Linked DNA regions of Homo sapiens: region 2 is linked to region 1. The links are contacts of gene promoters, found by promoter capture Hi-C in blood cells and fetal thymus (Javierre and others, 2016). All regions are on one chromosome and are shown on one strand. Each heading gives the region's core, a stretch centred on a gene start or on the middle of the fragment in contact. The rest is flanking DNA. Distances are from core to core; before and after follow the strand shown.

Region 1 (2,509 bases), core at 3-2,502:
ACTTTTACAGCATCAAATCGACTCTAGCACTCTGAAAAATACCAAGCACTTATTTTTACTCCCCAATTTTAGCGACAGATTTACACACTTAACAGTAGATAAATATGGTCTGAAAAAGTCACAAATATCGAACTTCTTAAATAGTTAAGTGTCAAGATGACGTAAAGAGAAAATTTCTCTAGATGCTAACGTAACTATTAGAAATTATGGAAAGAATTATTTATGGAAAGAATTATTGCTTTCTTTCCTTCTTAAATTTAAGACAAAAGCAAATCACAAAGCTAGCAAAAAACCCCCACGAAACACCAAAAACCCAAACCACTTATTTTCTGTGTGTAGATTCATTATTTGTGAAATAAAAAGCCTCATCTTGTAGTAAGAACTCTTCCAAAATAATCTGAAGGCAACTCGAAACAAGGGAATGGTGAGAACAAAGCCTATTTAAGGTACGTCTGAATTAATCTAACTTAGCTGTCAACGTCCTAATGACTGACGCTTCCCAAACCTCCCTTTTCAAAGGGTGACCAGAATTTCCAGGAAATAAGAAAAACTACTCGCAACATTTAACTGGAAAAATCTAACTCCCCAAATCTCAACGCTCCCTTTCTCCAAACACCTCCAACTGATTAAAACCCCCAAATATTAACAACGGCAACAACAACAAAGATAAATGGTAGCAACATTCCTCTCCCTCGATCCCGTTATTTCATCTCACTATTTTTTGGCTGGGGAAAAAAAAAAATCTCTGGGCCAAGGGGGCGTGAACCTCGAAGAATGTGAACTTCAAATCAATGGGGGGCGGCCGTCGGGTCGCGGAAAGGCCGCGGCGGGGGGCTGCTCGCGCCGGCAGGAAGCAGGGAGAAAGGGGCTGCAAACTGCGGAGGGGGAGGGGGACCGAAAAACCCCGCCACGCGGCCCGGCGAAGGCAGAGGCGCCGCCCTCGCTCCCACGCGGCGGCTGAGGCCCGCTGCGCGGCCTAGTTCGGCGCCAAAGCGGGCGCGGGACCCGCCATCTTCACTCCGTCCCCTCCCCCGGCCCAGTGCCGCCACCACCAGGGTCCTCTCCAGGCGCCTGCGGCCTCCCCGCCTAGGCCCGGAGTACCTGCCTTGTACCTACCTGGTGTCGTCGGCCACGTTCCTGACGAACAGAGACGTGTTGGGGGGACGCAGGTAGCGGGACATGGCGGCGGCGTGTCTCGGCCGGGCGCACTAACGGGCTCAGCAAACCGTCCGCGGCTCAGGCGGCCGAGCCTCAGACACACACAGCTAGAGGGCTCTGCTACGGCAACCGACTCTTCTCGCGAGACTTCACTCCCGCCTCCACTTCCCCCTCCTACCTCCGCGCAAAGTCGGGCGCAACGGTTCTTTCCCGCGAGAACACCAGGCGTCCGCCTGCGCATGCGGAGGGCTGGCGCACGCGCCTCAGCGTCGGTGTCATTCGTTGGCTTCTTGCGGTGCCTCTTACCCTCCCCCAAGCCTGTTCTTTCTTTCTTTAGGTCTTCATTTCCCGCCGTTTTCTACCTTACACTCCACTTCATCTCCACCCCCAAATCAGGAAGCAGATGTTTTAGTCTCTAGGCCAAACTTTGCGGTTACTACTAAATGGACAGATTTTTAAACTATTTAGTTCAGAGAGGCTGCCTTAAATTTCCCGGTTGGTCCAAGTTAATGTCCTGCTTTTATTTTGCCTTAAATTTCCCGTTTGGTCCAGGTTATGCCCTGACCTGCGAAAGAAGGATTTACAGCTTGTATTGAGTGTGTAAAGGAAGGAGGTGTGTGCCCTTGCGCAGAGCTGGGCCTGTCTCTCCAGTGTTTTCAGCCTGCCTTTGCCCCTCACCCACACCCTAGCCATCTCCACTTAGTCACGCATTTGGCTCCCAACCTGGGTGGGACCAAACCTCACACTGTAGGTTCATGACTGTGGTCATTTGTAGTGTATTCTTTGTTGCTGACGGCTTCCTGGGTATGCATCGGACCTGTATTGCAGCAGTTCTCAAACTTTTTGGTCTCAGAACGCCTTTATATTCTTGTGTATTACGGAAGATTCCAAAGAGCTTTTTTTAAAAAAAGTGTGGGTTATACCTATTAATAAATAGTTAATGAGAACTTAAAATAGAGGAAACTTCGGCTGGGCTCGGTGGCTCACGCCTGTAATCCCTCCCTGTACTTTGGGAGGCCGAGGCGGGCAGATCACGAGGTCAAGAGTTTGAGACCAGCCTGACCAACACAGTGAAACCCCATCTCTACTAAAAATACAAAAATTAGCCAGGCGTAGTGGCGCGCGCCTGTAATCCCAGCTACTTGGGAGGCTGGGGCAGAAGAATCGCTTGAACTCGGGAGGCAGAGGTTGCAGTGAGCCGAGATTGCACCACTGCATTCCAGCCTGGGCGACAGGGTGAGACTCCGTCTCAAAAAAGAAAAAAAAAAAAAATAGAGAAAACTTTGACACACTCCACTACCCTTTATCACACATCATGTACCCTCTGGAAAACTCCACGTTTGTAAGAGAA
Region 2 (2,509 bases), core at 6-2,505, 670 kb after region 1:
GAGATTGAGACCATCCTGGCTAACACGGTGAAACCCTGTCTCTACTAAAAATACAAAAAATTAGCCGGGCGTGGTGGCGGGTGCCTGTAATCCCAGCTAATTGGGAGGCTGAGGCAGGAGAATGGCACGAACCTGGGAGGCGGAGCTTGCAGTGAGCTGAGCACCACTGCACTCCAGCCTGGGCAAGAGTGCAAGACTCTGTCTCAAAAAAAAAAAAAAAAAATTAGCAGATTCTACTATGCCAAACAAAAAAACTAAGCTAAAAGGAACTTTGGTAGACAGAACTCTAACTTGAGCATTTTTTTTTAGGATTGTGAAGTTGTACTTAATTGTTTCTATGTTTCATCAGGTGGACATGAGCAAAGTAAATTTGGAGGTTATAAAGCCTTGGATAACAAAAAGAGTAACGGAAATCCTTGGGTTTGAAGATGATGTTGTGATTGAGTTTATATTCAACCAGCTGGAAGTGAAGGTACTAATATACAAATGGCTCTTGTTTCTGAATATGTGATATAATTTGTGAATCTTTGGAAACTGAATTTTTTCTATGGAGTGCAAATATAGAAGGGTTATTTTACAATGTTTGTTGTGAAAAGAATTCACTTTGTAAACAACTATTAAGGCTGGAAGTTTAGTGAAGGTGCATAGTTTTGAAAGCTACACAGGTGAAAAATCAAACTTATTGTTTGTAATTTTGCTGTTACATGTTAAGTTACTTTGACAGCAATTTTCTAATGATAATGTGATTTATGATTTAAAAGGCCTGAACCAAAATGGAAGTTATTCCTTGCGTCTGAAGTATAGCACCATCACCTTATTAGGTCACAGCAGAGTGAGTGTCCCAATGTCGCTCTGACCCAACTCCCTTGATGATGCAGTGTGTGTTTGGAGGTGAGTTGTGTAAAGTGGCCAAACATCAACAACAACAACAAAAAACACAAACAGGAAAGAGCAATTGGGTAAAGCTGTACACTGCTCTTTTAAAATACTATTATGAGATGGACATTTATGTGAAGCATGAGGGGCAATTCTGATTTGATTGGATATTGTTTTTAAAGGAACTAAGGTCTTTGTAGCTGCATGTCAGCTAGTCATCAGTTACATTTTAGAGACAGGATTTTTGTTTATACTTAAACTTCAGACAAATTGGCAGCATATAATTGTTCCTTTATACATGAGATAATATGATGATATAACTGATGTTTAAGAACATTCTTATTGTAAGACAGTTTCTGTTTTGCCACAGCAACCCAAAGGACAGTTAAGATATGTACCATATGACCTTTTTGCATATATACCAATGTGAATTTACTTTTACATTAATCATTTCCCCCAAAGAGTTCACCCTATGTTTTGACAGAACAGTTGGCATTTCAACTGATAAGGTATTTCTAGTTTTAAAATAATTTGGTGTTTGTATTTTGTTTTGAATATTTTTAAAGACTAATTTTAAGAATGCACTTTCTATAAAGTATATGCATCTTAGAAAACCAGGAACAGGGGAGAAAGTTTTTTAAATGATGATTGAAGATAGATTTTATTGGAGAAATGCTTTACTGATGTGTATTTTAGTGCATTTTAAAAACCTAAGTATCTGGTAGTATTCCCCTTGTAGTGAGCATGAGATTAAAGTTTAGAACTTTTTAAGACAATTCTTTTTTTGTGGTTGTGTACTCATTATTGCTTGTTCGTCTTTTGCAATTTAGATAAATGATATAACATTAAACTCAAGGTGGTTGAGTTGCAGTAGGGAGTCGGAAGCAAGCCAAGGGAACATCTTTCTCTACAGGGGACTTGGCGATTCCAAACCCCCAAGGTTCCAAGAAGAAACTGAAGACACCTGGAATCTGTACTTGCTTTGTGCTATTGAGCTGTGCTTGTTATACAGACCTTGTTGCTTGACCAACGGATTTAGCATTTAAAAACCCAATTATTTTTGAGAAATCTTGACCTCTTAGCACTTTGTGGACAGTTGAGAATTTGAGGCATTGTTATAATAGATTTTCCTTATATAAAACTCAGGCCTTTAGCTTAGCCCTCAGAAGTTACAGACTGCATGCATAACTTGTTAGTTTTCATAACTGGACAATAGATATTTTATGCAAAGCTATCTGTAGTGTTAGGGAGCAGTTTATGTACTTTTTCCGTTTCTCATTGGGGGAAAATTTCCAGGCAAGCAAATACTTTTCTTGTTAGTAAATACTAGAATTTGTGGATGTTTCATGATGGTTTTTAAAGTTAATAAATGTAAGGCCCACTAACAGCCACAGAGTCTAAAAATACTTACGAAATCCACAAAGGATTAACAGGCTGCTCTGATGCTTTTGGTAGAGTGAGAGAGAATTTGGTAATCTGTTAGAGATTATATTGCTGAGAAGCTACTAGGGAAGACTATTTGTAAAATAGTAAGGACTATATATATGTCTAAGCCCCTATGGTAGACTTAAAAAATACTAATTTAAATGAGTTTTAGGTTGGTTGATTTGTTGGTTGGTTGGTTTTGAAGTAA

The links. The method cuts DNA at HindIII sites, captures the fragments that hold promoters and counts their contacts. A CHiCAGO score of 5 or more calls a contact.
Region 2: a contact is called between a fragment that was not itself captured here and the fragment with the promoter of SRSF10 in region 1, in 1 of 17 cell types (non-activated CD4 T cells). The highest score is 5.3, in non-activated CD4 T cells.

Annotation. Positions count from the first base shown.
Region 1 is chr1:23,979,075-23,981,583 of GRCh38, forward strand. SRSF10 (serine and arginine rich splicing factor 10) reads right to left here and starts at 1,253. Exons shown (of 6, transcript NM_054016.4): 1 at 1,117-1,253. The coding sequence starts at 1,181. RefSeq lists enhancers at 480-1,470, 708-757, 1,188-1,517, 1,471-2,461, 1,528-1,577. The HindIII fragment of the contact is 15,744 bases long and covers 1-2,509 here.
Region 2 is chr1:24,646,318-24,648,826 of GRCh38, forward strand. It overlaps SRRM1 (serine and arginine repetitive matrix 1), which reads left to right. Exons shown (of 17, transcript NM_005839.4): 3 at 350-472. Among named protein-coding and RNA genes, the nearest start is that of SRRM1, 4.3 kb to the left of the region's middle. The HindIII fragment of the contact is 4,299 bases long and covers 1-2,509 here.